3 separate regions of the Homo sapiens genome follow, and regions 1 and 3 are each linked to region 2. The links are contacts of gene promoters, found by promoter capture Hi-C in blood cells and fetal thymus (Javierre and others, 2016). All regions are on one chromosome and are shown on one strand. Each heading gives the region's core, a stretch centred on a gene start or on the middle of the fragment in contact. The rest is flanking DNA. Distances are from core to core; before and after follow the strand shown.

Evidence for each region. Contacts are between HindIII fragments. The CHiCAGO score rates a contact against its expected background, and 5 or more counts as called.
Region 1: a fragment that was not itself captured here is called in contact with the fragment with the promoter of RTP4 in region 2 in 2 of 17 cell types (naive CD8 T cells and naive B cells); the score reaches 7.1 in naive CD8 T cells.
Region 3: a contact is called between a fragment that was not itself captured here and the fragment with the promoter of RTP4 in region 2, in 1 of 17 cell types (activated CD4 T cells). The highest score is 6.3, in activated CD4 T cells.

Annotation. Positions count from the first base shown.
Region 1 is chr3:189,126,201-189,131,074 of GRCh38, forward strand. It overlaps a transcript of TPRG1 not described here. Among named protein-coding and RNA genes, the nearest start is that of TPRG1, 43 kb to the right of the region's middle. RefSeq lists an enhancer at 1,815-3,014. The HindIII fragment of the contact is 5,198 bases long and covers 467-4,874 here.
Region 2 is chr3:187,365,345-187,369,756 of GRCh38, forward strand. It overlaps RTP4 (receptor transporter protein 4), which reads left to right and starts at 3,041. Exons shown (of 2, transcript NM_022147.3): 1 at 3,041-3,252. The coding sequence starts at 3,098. RefSeq lists an enhancer at 2,902-3,251. The HindIII fragment of the contact is 4,178 bases long and covers 948-4,412 here.
Region 3 is chr3:189,035,412-189,040,209 of GRCh38, forward strand. It overlaps a transcript of TPRG1 not described here. Among named protein-coding and RNA genes, the nearest start is that of TPRG1-AS1, 90 kb to the left of the region's middle. The HindIII fragment of the contact is 5,433 bases long and covers 1-4,365 here.

The DNA.
Region 1 (4,874 bases), core at 1,816-4,315, 1.8 Mb after region 2:
TCTTTGTTCCACATAAAATAAGTCAATTTGACTCAGAAGATACATGGAGGGTAGAGCTATATTCTCATAAGGTGGCATGACCTTCTTCTAGTATTAAAAAAATACCACTCTGCTTTCAGACAGAACTTGAAGGTTATTTCTTCTTTCCTTAGTTAAGGGAATCTGCTCAGAGAACAAGATAATAAATAGGCTTAACTCCTAGTTTTGCCACTTATTAGCTCGATGTCACTAAGACTGGCCACTGGTTATTTATAAATTGGGAAAAAATACCTGCCTTATTATCCCCTGGTATGTTGTGAGGGTTAAGTGAGAATTCCTTCATGTGTATGAGGCTTTCTGATTTTAAAGCATTTTTATATGGGAAATGGGTGCATGTGATTAAGAGTGTGGTTTTTTGGGGCAGCAAAATGTGTCTGAATTCCATTTCCATTATTTCCTAGCTCTATGACCTTGTATAATTTGCTTAAGCTTGCTGAGCTTAGATCTACTCATTGTTCAAATGGAAATTGGACCTCCAAATTTATGAGGACATCAGAAGGATTAAATGATACAAGTGAAGTGTTTACCTTGGCACCTGGTGTTTGCTATGTATTCTATAAATTATTGCTAGTTGTATCTTATTTGATTCCTACCAAACCCTGTAGGGAAAGAAAGACAGCTCTTATTCACACGATTTCATTGTGAAATAATTGCTAACCAGAAGTACAGAAAGATGAGTGTGATGATGATCTAGGGTTTGAATCCAGTTTCTAGACTTAAATCCAGCAGGAATATCCTGTAAAACAACATATAAACTTAGAGCTTCTGACCTCTAAGCTGTCAGTAATTACAAATCTGCATCTTCCCTTTGAGACAGGATTATTTATGAGGATGGCCTGTGCAAAAAGACACCCAGAGATTTCATGCTGTTGATTCACAGAAAGCCTGTTCCTCTTCACTCCGTAGAGTCCTCAGAGTCTGGATCATCCCTTACAGAAGATCCTTGATAATATTTCTGATATACCTCCAAGGTGAGTAGAAGGAACTATGGGAGTGGCAACCAAAAAGGAAAATTATGATGCCTATAGGAATTTGATTTCAGTAGCCAGAATAGCATTGAGGCCACAAAACCATTACTTAGGTGTCTGCTCCATCAAAAACTGGGATCCTAAAAGGCAAGATGTCAGAACTAGAAGGATTTTAGAGATCATATAGGTGCTGACATATGTTAACAAATGGAAACTATTGACACAAGTTAAAATTGTATCTGCCACAGTGTATATTATAACCAATGTGCCAAGTTAGTGGTCAATGGGCCTCTCAACTTTCAATTTTGAAAGTCACGTTTGCTTTGGAGATACCGTAGGGCATCTTGACATGAACATGACACAACCTTTGTCCTTAAGACCAAAATAAGAGATATCAATACAATGTGAATAACATGTGGCTATACTCCCAGGTAAAGGTCTTAAGGTCTTTTTATAGCAATGTGGAGATTCAGAGAAAAACAAACCATACTTGATTTGGAGAATAAAGGAGGTAAACTCACAAAAGAGATGGCCTCTGGGTAGAACCTTGAGGTCCAGATGTTATGGAAGAGAAAGAAGTATGAAATCAATGGCCTTTGTGAGGTAGAGTCTAAGTTGTCTTCCCTCAGACTCAGTTTCTCACTAGGAAAGTGAAGTTAAGCATAATTCCCTATATGCTTAGCTGGTATATGTAAAAATGTTGTGTTCAAAGTCTTCCTCCTCTTCTCTTTCATTCTTTCCCCAAAACCTCACTACAGGTCCCAAGAGGTGGGCTCCTACTTTAGTCTACCAGGACCATCTTATAGGTTGTTGCTGATTTTGATCTTTCCTCACAGCTTAAAAAATCTGCACAGTATTTTTATCATTGGGCTTTTGTGGGGAGTGAGAAGTAAAAATAACTTAAAAATTTTAAAATAAATTTTGCACAATTGCAAGATGAGTCAGAAAGGGAAAATTCCTGTTTGTCGTGTACTCTTAATGAATTCGTTTTGCTAGAGTCTTGTGATAGATGAACCTTTGTGCAGCTCTCCTGGAGCATGGGCCGCCATGGCCCTTGCATGGAATCATTGTACCAGAGCTGTCAGTATTGTGCAAAGACGGCCTGGAGGAGGGAAGAAGACACCTTCAAGAAAGGGACAGAGTATTGGAAGTCAGGTCAAGGTAGGTTTATCAGATTTAGGAAATAAAAATACAGGGCATCTAAAGAAAAAAATTGTTTTAAGTATGTCTCAACCATAACATGAAACATATTTATACTAAAAAAGTTGTTTATCTGAAATTCAAATTTAACTGGAGTCCTATATTTTATCTGGCAACTGTAGTTGAATGAGATGAAAAGGTCAAAGAGTTAAGAAGTAATAAAGATATTTTTATAAGGGTTTATAATTTTCGAAGTGCCCTCATGTTCCTTATCTCATTTTGACCTCATATCAACAAAATGTTGGTACTATTTCTCTAATTTTAGTGATAATGAAAGATTAGGCTGAGAGAGCTTAGGTAACTTACCTAAGGACATGCCACTGGTAGGTGTCAGTGTTGGCTCTTCAACTCAGTTATTTTATTATTAGCATTATTTTTTGAGACAGAGTTTCGCTCTTGTTGTCCAGGCTGGAGTGCAAGGGCGCAATCTCGGCTCACTGCAACTTCCACCTCCCGGGTTCAAGCGATTCTTCTGCCTCAGCCTCCTGAGTAGCTGGGATTACAGGCGTGAGCTGCCGCACCCGGCCCAACTCAGTTATCTTTTAAACTTCTTATTTTGAGATAATTTTAGACTCAGGAAAAACAAAAACAAAAACAACAGCAGCAGCAACTTCTCCTAATGTTAACATCTTATCTACCCGTGGAACAATGATTAAAAACTAAGAAATTAACTTTAGTACTATTCACTAAAGTATGGACTTTATACATATTTCATCAATTTTTTCACAAATGTCCTTTCTTATTCCTAGGCTCCAATTCAGAGTCCCACGTTGCCTTAGTTGTCAGGTCTCCTGCCATCTGTGACAGTTTCTCACAGTTTTTCCTTTTCTTTCATGATTGTGACACTTTTGAAGAGTACTGATGAGTTATTTTGTAGAATGTCCTTCAATTTTGGTTTTTCTGATCTTTTCTTGGGACTATACTGAAGGTATTGCAAAAGATACCACAGCAGGGATGCGTCCTTCTCAGGCTGTGATACCAGGTATATTATGTTGATATATATTATTGGTGACATTAACCCTGATCACTTGGTTAAGATGGCATCTGCTGGATTTTTCCACTGTAAATTTGCTGTTTCCCCCTTTGTTATTACTAAATATTTTGAGAAGTGACACTTGAGACTATAAAAATATGCTGTTTATACTTAAACTTTCCCTCATTAACTAATTTTAGCCTCTTGTGGTGGATCTTGCTTGTTGCCATTGTTATTATGATGTTGTAATGGTCATTTTCTATTTTCCTCATTTTCTCTATATTTATTAACTGAAACTCTCTGTTGGAAAGAGTTGTCGCTTCACTCCTTATTTAAGCTCAGTTATTTTAAGTCCAAGACTATTGCTTTTTTCACTAAAGCACAGATGAAGAAAAAAGTATAGGATTTTGAGCTATGGTAAAGTTATGATTGTTTCATGTGCACAGTGGAAGGAGTATGAAAATAATTTTACTTATTTTACTAACATTGATCAAACATTTACTTCTATACAGGGCCTTGTGTTAGGCATTGTGAAGGAAAGAGAAATGCACAAAAAATCTCATGGAGGCTGATAAATCAAAGATAATACTTAAGGTACTCTTCATAAGAGGGATAATAAAACTTCTCAGCTGAATGTTGAACTGATAAATGATTATGTTGATGACTATGGCAATGATAAGTGAATTGTAATGCAGTTATCAAGCACTCATGGCAAGCTCAGCTCTGAGTAATATAGAATATCCTCAACCAGATGATCATGATGTATGTACAGATCTTGGCACATACATCATGTGCCATGGGTTCTAGGCACATGCATAGTACCGAGTATGTTGGGTTATAAGCACCATGAGATCTTTCTCATAATTTATAGAAAGAAGAACTCAACTAGACAATAACTATTTTGACTGTCTTTAGGATCCATGATTCCTTTCTGCCTGGGAGAGATTATGAGGCTTCAGAGAATTCAAACATTGCTCCTCATTAAGGAAATGGTGAATTAACTTACATGTAGTACCTGAAAAAATTAAACTTCTATTCTCAGTGCTTTCTTAACTGGCCTAAAATGGACCTTACAGGTATAATCTCAGTAACTCAAATGTTATCAGAGGAAAATGGCCTGGCATGGTCAAAACGTAGCAGATTATTTTAACCAGTAGTTAATAAAACTGAACAACAGCATGAAAGAGAACACCAATAGTCCCTTGACATGGACTGTAATAGGATGAAACTAGAGGCAAATGTAGATTCCCTTCTGTGAGTGTGAGGGCTCTACTATCAAGCAACCATTTATATATTCTGGCAGAATATGAACTGCTTAGGACACACTCATAATGTGATGTGAAGAGTACCAATGTCTGTTAAAAAAATCCATTTGAAAGTACTATTTAAAAAATCCAACAGTAGAGCTATATATTCCAGCTATAACAGGCTTTCATTTACATTCTTCCTCAAATGCAGGTCATAACCTGAGTTTGAGATGCAGGGAATGACCTGCGTTTTAGAGAAGAGGAAAGTGAGGTTCAGGGCCATATGTGATTTTTGCTAACAATGGTGGATCTTGAGCTAGGATCCAAAACTTCTGATTATGAGATGTGTACTTTTTACCTCATGCCATGTTACCTCTGGCCGGTAAAATACCTAAAATTCTGCACAACTCTAAGTAACGTGATCGTATGTCCCACTTTGCCCAGAAC
Region 2 (4,412 bases), core at 1,791-4,290:
GGGCACACATGAAGAAGAGGCAGAAGGAAATCATGAAGGCATGCAATGCGCCGGATCAAGCTACCTTTTGGGAAAAACAGAGCATTTGAGGTGTCAGGGGTAAGGGGACTCTCTGAAGGTACACTCTGAAGATACAGAATAAGTAGAGTGGACTTGGGATCCTAAACCCAGCGGAAAGTGAAGAGAAAGGGTAGAGAAATGATTTATGCATGGGTGGAGCAAGAGAGCAGAACTTGAAGCCAGGCCCTGTATTGGCACTAATTTGCTGTGTGACCTTAGGCAAGAGACCTTATTCCTCTGGGTCTCAGTTTTCTTTTCTCTTTTTTTTTTTTTTTTTTTTGAGACGGAGTTATGCTCTTGTCACTCAGGCTGGAGCGCAATGGCATGACCTCGGCTAACTGCAACCTCTGCCTCCTGGGTTCAGGCAATTCCCCTGCCCTGGCCTCCCAAGTAGCTGGGATTACAGGCATGCGCCATCATGCCTGGCTGACTTTGTAATTTTTAAAGTAGAGATGGGGTTTCATCATGTTGGTCAGGTGGTCTCAAACTCCTGACCTCAAGTGATCTACCCTCCTTGGCCTCCCGAAGTGCTGAGATCACAGGCGTGAGCCACGGTGCCCAGCCTCAGTTTTCTCGTGTATAAAAATTAAAGGGAAAAGGGATAAGTTGATTTCTAAGGGTTTTCCCAACTCTAACATCCTGTGGATCCAATTACAAGTTCTTAGAGCTTCCTATATCATGTGTATAGACACAGGTATCCAGGAAGGGAAGGAAAGAGAGAGGGTGTCTCTGAGTCGCTGACAGGGCACATGGAAGCCTAGAAAACCCAGGAAGACTGAGGCTGATCCTGTCTCAGACACAGAAGCTGTAGCGGGTGTTCTAAAGACCTAAGTAAGCATCCTGCTTGTCCTATCTCCCCTATTTGAATTTAAGCCCCAGGAGGACAAAGCTTACTCTCTGGAATCTCCGCGTTTTAGACTTACAAGTGTCTTTAAAGGTCATCTCATCTCAATCCCTTACCCCAAAATGGGAATTCTCTGTATCCTACCACTGAAAGACGGCCCCCACACCTGTGCGTATTTGCCCTTCCACATAATTTACAGAGTGGAGGGCAGAGTTTGATAATCCCTTCATGCAGCTGACCTCCTGCCTCAGGACCCAGGAAATCTCCCTACGGTTCCTCTGACACTGGCTCCAGTGTGCCAGCCTGGAACCTGAAATGCCATTCTCAGCTTCTCTTCAGGGAGTGAGGTGGGCGGACACATGGCAGGTTTTGGAGTCACACAGACCCGGGTTCAAGTCTCACTTCCACTGCTCGTTAACTGAGGGGATTTGGACAAAGTACCCCAGCTTTCTGTGCAGTTAACCTGCAAAACTCCAAGAATAATCCTTCGCGGGACTGGTGAGGATACATGGGGTGTAGGAGATGAGCATTAAACACGTGCTCCCCTACGCTGCTCCTAACCTCCCTGTCTCCACCTGGGTGTGAGCATCTGTGGGGGCAGGAATTGTTTCTTAGCTACAGGATACTCTTTTCCCAGTGCCAAAAACAGTGCTTTTGTGTCCGGAATTGGTGGGTTCTTGGTCTCACTGACTTCAAAAATGAAGCCACCGACCCTCATGGTGAGTGTTACAGCTCATAAAGGCACAGTGCCCAGAGTTTGTTCCTTCTGATGTTCGGATGTGTTCTGAGTTTCTTCCTTCTGGTGGGTTTATTGTCTTGCTGGCTCAAGAGTGAAGCTGCAGACCTTCCGGGTGAGTGTTAACAGCTGATAAAGGCAGAGCAGACCCAAACACTGCGCAGCAGCAAGATTCATTGCAAAAACCAAAAGAACAAATCTTCCACCACGTGGAAGGGGACCCGAGCCGGTTGTCAGTGCTGGCTGGGGCAGCCTGCTTTTATTCTCTTATCTGGCCCCACCCACATCCTGCAGATTGGTCCATTTTACAGAGAGCCAATTGGTCTGTTTTACAGAGAGCTGATTGGTCCGTTTTGACAGGGTGCTGATTGGTGCATCCACAAACCCTGAGCTAGACACAGGGTGCTGATTGGTGCATTTACAAACCTTGAGCTAGATACAGAGTGCCCATTGGTGTATTCACAATCCCTTAGCTAGACATAAAGGTTCTCCAAGTCCCCACTAGACTCAGGAGCCCAGCTGGCTTCACCCAGTGGATCCCGCCCCGGGGGCAGCAGGTGGAGCTGCCTGCCAGTCCTGCGTGTGTGCCCGCACTTCTCTGCCCTTGGGCGGTCGATGGGACCAGGCACCATGGAGCAGGGGGTGGCACTCGTCGGGGAGGCTTGGGCCATGCAGGAGCCCAGGGTGGGGAGACTCAGGCATGGCGGGCTGCAGGTCCCGAGCCCTGCCCCACAGAGAGGCAGCTAAGGCCCAGCGAGAAATCGAGCTCAGTGCCGGTGGGCCGGCACTGCTGGGGGACCTGGCGCACCCTCCGCAGCTGCTGGCCCAGGTGCTAAGCACTTCACTGCCCAGGGCTGGGGGCCTGCCGGCCGCTCCGAGTGCAGGGCCCGCCAAGCCCACGCCCACCCAGAACTCTAGCTGGCCTGCAAGCCCTGCATGCAGCCCCGGTTCCTGCCCGTGCCTCTCCCTCCACATCTCCCAGCAGGCTGAGGGAGCCGGTTCTGGCTTTGGCCTACCCAGGAAGGGGCTCCCACAGTGCAGTGGCTGGCTGAAGGGCTCCTCCAGCGCGGCCAGAGTGGGCACCGAGGCCGAGGAGGCTCCGAGAGCGAGCGAGGGCTGCGAGGGCTACCAGCATGCTGTCACCTCTCACTTTGCCTATTATAAAAAATGAGAGAGAGAAAATAAAAGCGAATTTATATGTGACCCCAGAATCTAGAACAGAGCTCTTTATCTCTCTCTCAGCAAGGCCTATTAACTAACACAGTTTTGCTGCTGTCTGTTTTCAGAACAAAGACTTGTTCTGTGTACTCAGACAGTCTAAAATGAAGGTTGAAAAAAACAGCTCATGTCCATACACAGAAACAGAAACTGAACCGAACACCGAAACTGAAACTGTTTGTCTCTTCCTGAGAAACGAGCAAACCTGAAAGCTACTCTCTCAGCTTCAGAGGGAAAAAATGGTTGTAGATTTCTGGACTTGGGAGCAGACATTTCAAGAACTAATCCAAGAGGCAAAACCCCGGGCCACATGGACGCTGAAGTTGGATGGCAACCTTCAGCTAGACTGCCTGGCTCAAGGGTGGAAGCAATACCAACAGAGAGCATTTGGCTGGTGAGTGTGGGTTTCCCAGGCAATAGCTCTTCTGAGAAGAGAGGCTCAGGCTCAGCTTAGCATGATTTATTCCTCTGAGAGCTTGTTGAAGGAGTAAATGTCACCAGGGCCTCCATCCTATTGTGGTCATAGTACTCTTTAGGGTCGACATGATAAGACGACTCCAAACCTCCATTTTGTTTAACTGCTGGAAGTTTCTTCTTTTACTAGGTTTCCCTCCGTAAATATTTCTGGAAAACCCTGGAGAAGGCTCCCTATTCCATAAATTTTCCCTTCTAGTTTCTCACCACGTCATTTGTTCCAGACTACCTCTAGAGTCTTTTGCAGTCTCCCCAGCAGTCCTGACCAGCTTCCCCCAGCTGCACCAGCTCTCCAAGCCTTGGCACTGTTCAGTACAAGCCTGGGACGGAGCCTTTTTTTTTTTTTTAAATATCTTAAGAATTGGCTAAGATCAAGCAGTTACTCTGAACATTGCTTTACTGAAGGCCTGGGGATAATAGTATAGAATGATGTTGCAAAAACTAAATCTAAAACCCAGTTCATGGAGTCACCAAGTAATACTCCTCCCTTACTCACCACTTCCCTCTTTAACCCCCAGCAAGCCTCCAGGTTGCAGGAACCAGTTTCCTTGACCATGTTAGGAGGGTGAGAATTGCTGACCTGGATAATCAAATTTATTTTTAAATGACACACAGGACCTTCGGTATAGTTTTCATCTGACCTATTACTCAGCTTGCCTGCCTGCCCCATCCTGCCTCAGGTATGGCCTACTCCATTCCTTATGGACTATTAGCTATGCCATGCATCTTCAGACTTCCACACTCTTGTTCATGGAGTTCTGCTTGTTCAGCAGACCCTCCCCTCACCCCTCCCTGCTCATCCTTCAAGGCCCACTCTAGTGCCTCCTCCTCCTAAAAGCATTCTCTGGTTCTCCTAGGCAGAGTAAGTATTCCTTCGTATACATTCCCATAAGATAATGGGATAAGATAAAATATATATGTATATGTATACATAAATGATATATAATTATATATACATATGTACTATGTATTTCAGAATAATAAATTTATAAATAATATATGTATTATTATATATTGTATCAAATACAGTATATGCTTATTTTTAGCTGCAGAATCTGTTGTTTAAATAAAGCCTCCTAA
Region 3 (4,798 bases), core at 399-2,898, 1.7 Mb after region 2:
AACAAAAACAAAAATTGACAAATGTGACCTGATTAAACTAAAGAGCTTCTTTCTGCACAGCAAAATAAACTGTCAATAAACAGGCATCATACAGAATGGGAGAAAATATTGGCAAACTATGCATCTGACATATGTGTACTATCTAGAATCTATAAGGAACTTAATCCAGCAAGCAAAAACCAAGTAACCCCATTAAAATGGGCAGAAGACATGAATAGACACTTCTCAAAAGAAGGCATACATGTGACCAACAAATATATTAAAAAGTACATCACTATTCATTAGAGTGAATCAAAAACTACAATGAGATACCAACTCATACTAGTCAGAATGGCCATTACTAAAATGTCAAAAAATAACAGATGTTGGGGAAGTTGCAGAGAAAAGGAAACACTTATACACTGTTAGTGGGAATGTAAATTAGTGCATCTAGCGTGGAAAGTAGTTTTGAGATTTCTCGAAGAACTTAAAACAGAACTACCATTCTACCCAGCAATCCCCTTACTGGGTCTATACCCAGAGGAAAATAAATTGTTCTACCAAAAAGACAAATGCACTTGTATGTTCATTGAAGCACTATTCACAATAGGAAAGACATGGAATCAATCTAGATGCCCATTACTAGTGGATTGGATAAAGAAAATATGGTCCATATACACCATGGAATATTATGCACCTATGAAAAAAAACAAAATCCTGTCCTTTGCAGCAACATGGATGGTCATTATCTTAAGTGAATTAATGAAGGAACAGAAAAACACATACTGCATGTTCTCATTTGTAAGTGGGAGCTAAACATTGAGTACACACAGACACAAAGATGGGAACAATAAACATGGGGACCACTAGAGAGGGGAGGGTAGAATGGGGCTAGGGTTGAGAAACTACTAGTGTAAAATTAGTACTGTTGGGTACTATGCTCACTACTTGGGTGACAGGATCATTTGTACACCAAATCTCAGTGTCATGCAATTTACACATGTAAGAAACCTGCACATGTACCCCATGAACCTAAAATAAAAATTACAAAACCCCACTAATGTGTGGAAAAAGTTAAGGGAATGGACACCCATGAAGTTGAGATAAGTTATAGGAGATAAGGAAGCTATAATTGTTTGCATATGTAAAAATATAAAAAGAGCAACAACATAATGCTATCCCAGACAAAGGAGGAATAATAAAATAATAAAGATAATATAAAATTCAAGAAATAAGAAATAATAACACCATATACGTGACAACAGACAAATAAGTTTGAATTCTTTGGAAAGATGAGTAACATATACAGGTATCTGGTAACACTGGTAACAAAAAGTTGAAAATTAGCAAAATATAGAATAAAAAAGGTGATGTAAATTTAGATGTAATGTACAGATGGATAATTATAGATGTAATGAAGATTATAAAGACAGTAAATACTATTAATGAGATCTATAAACCGATTAAATGAAACCAAATCATTTTTTAAAAATTCCAGAATCAGCAGAAGAAGAAATAAAAAATTTGAAAGGTCTAAAAATCATAAGATAAACTGACATAGTTATCAAAAAAGTCCCCATTCTTACTCCTACTCCTGCCCCACCAAAATCCGAGGCCCAAATGATTTATAAGTGACTTCTGAAAAAAAAAACGAAACAAATATTTAAAAAAAAAATCACCCTCCTTTCCTCATACAAGTTGTCCTAGATAATAGAATAATAGAAAAGGCCAAAGTGCCTTAATCATTCTTTGATACTCATGAAACAGTAATTATTTTTACTTGATAAAAATATTGTCTATAAAAAATTATAGAACAAATTTATTTATAAATTTGTGTGTAAAAATTCTACGAAAATCATTAGATCACACACTAAAATATTATTTGAGAAAAGAAAAAAACATGATGAACATGTATGATTTACCTCAGTAACATAAGGAGGATTTCATATCAGAAGCTCTATCAATGTAACAGTAGTAATTTACTAAGGAAACAAATCATATGTTTAGCTCAATATAAGTAGAAAAATTATTAAATAAAATGTAATTTCTGTTTATAATACAACTTTTCACAAAATCAGGCATAAATGAGAACCTTATTAACTAGTTAAAGGCTGTATATGAACAACTTTCAGTAAGTATTTTTTAAAGAAGAAACTTAAGGTATATTTAATATTAGACAAGAAAACATTATGTCGCCACTACTAGTTAACCTAGTACTAGTGGGACATAACCAAATATAATGAAACAAGAAATACAATGAGATATCACTGCTGGAAGATGAAAGAGCTTCAGATGATTTAATCATTTATGGAAACTAACAGTCTTCTCCAAGATTTTGTATACAACTAGTAAGAGTATTTCTGGATAAAATATATTAAACAACCAACAATATTTTCTACCAGTAGTAAATTAGTAAGATATATCCATCAAGTATAATATACCAGCAAAACTTTAAGATATAAATATATTAACCTATTAAGAAGTCTAAAGATTGTTTTGGAGAAACTACCATCTCTATCAAAAGGCATACAAGATCTGAATGAATACAGAGATAAACCATGTTCATGGATGGGGCAACTTAGTATTTTAAAGAGGTCAAATTTTGCCAAATTAAATAAAAAATGTATAGAATTCCAATCAAAACTTATACAGAGAAACTTAGGTCTAAAATATATTGTGAAAAACAAAAGTCCATAAGTAAATGATAATTTTGGAAGAGCAAAAAGGAATACCTTCCCTACCCTCTATTATTATATAACCATAAAAGAAAAAAAAATAGCCTGCCACATGATCAGACAAGTAAAACAATGGGATAAAGAACCATAAACCGTCCCTTATGGAATATGGTATAAAATTAAGGTGACTATTTTAATTTGCCTGTGAAAATTTTACTGCATTTATGCCTATTGGCCTAGCAAAATTAAAAATAATGTCCTCTTTTACTTTTCAGTTTGGAATATATTGTATGATGTCTTCATATATAATCAATTGATATAATAAATCAATGGAGGAAAGATAGGCTTTTTAAAAGCATATAGTATTGGCAAAACTGGCTTGTTAAATGGAGAAAAGTAAAATTTGATAAAATTTTGAATTAAACATTAGTATGTAAAATGTAAAGATAAACTGGTGAGAAAATAATGGAAAGTACCTTGGCAACTTCGGGGTGGGGAATGATTTCTGGAACAATACTCCCAAAATTAAAAGTATAATGGGAAAAAAATGAATGGATCTGATACATAATAATTATGAATTTCTGTTCATTGAAGGACACTGTAGATAAAGGTAACAGATGGGAGACAGACTGGGGGAAGATAATTACAACATTTAAAACTGACAAGGGATTAATACCTAGAATAATTAAGCAATTCCTGCAAATCAACAAAGAAAAGAGAGTAATTGGCAAAAAAAAAAAAAAAATGAATAGACAATTCACAGAAGGGCAAACCCAAATTACTTACATGCTCATGAAGACATCCCCAACATCATAAGTAATGAGAGAGCTATAAATTAAAACCATAATGAGACTCATTTTACACCCATCAGATTGGTAAAAATGAGAAAGTCAGATGGTATCATTGTTGGCACAGATGTGAAAAAATGAGAATCCTCATGCACTGCTGGTGGGAGTGGAAACTGGTGAGCCATTCTGGAGGGCAATCTGTTGGAAGTATATGTATATATATACCCCTTGACCCAGAAATTCCCGGAGGGAAACCTATGCAGGGTCACATGTGACATATACAAGGATATAGCTATCTAGATGAAATAGCATTACAGTTTGGGTAGGGAGGTGTTGCTTTATGGAAATGTTCAGAAAGAAATGGAGCACAGTGAACCCAGAGCTGGCTCTCTGTAGGCTTATATTCTTTGCTGAATCTTCAGTAAGAAGAAAGCAAAGGTTACTTCCATTCCACCCCAGTCCTAGGCATTGTCAAGGCCCAGGTACACCCTTGTTCCTGGCACTCTCCAAACTTTCAGGGCCCTGTTGTGAAATTCTCTGGGAAGTTAAATACATGAATGATGTTAGAAATTGAAAGGAGCATTTTAAAAAATGAGGGTTACCACAAGATGAGGGCAACGTTTAACTGAAAGGGGAAAATGATACAATATAGGTTTCAGTGATAGCTAAACAACAGAAATCTGTGACATCACTGAGTGCAGACACTTAGAGGCCCCAACAGAAATTTGGAGACCTCTTTAGATCTTTCCTTCTGTGTAGTGAAAAGAAAGCAATTTCATAAGAGAACATGACAGTGAACATTTCTATTGAAAACCACAAAGTTTTTGCAATTTTAGCAGAAGTCTAGTTTTGAAGATCAAATCATTGAGAGAGAATGTACACTTGTTTTTTTGTCATTTACTGAAAGCCAGAAAAATAGGTGAAGCTTGTCTTAATTCAGATGGCACCTTGGAAAGGAGATCATTCTGATATCTTCTTCTCACTCCTATTTTTTTTTTTGACTTTTCAAAGAGCAACAGAACATTGGAGCTAGAAGTAGCCTCTAAAGTTAAGTAACACAGCTCCAGTCTGCTATGGAATTCTTCCTACAAACATGCATTTCCTTATATGTAAACCTCAAGAATCTACTGGAACCAGACCATTGATCCATTACTTTAAGATACATTACTCCTTCCTTAAGGGAGTTATGTAAGCTCTTTCTATAGAGGCTATGCCTGGAAAGCTGCCTCCCTGACACCCTAGGGCCAGGTTATAACTCTTGGACCTAGCTTGCCTCCACTAAACTCCAAATTTGGGGGTTACATTTTTTATAAGTCATGTTTTCTCTTGAATGGCCTCATTGTGGTAGATGAAAGA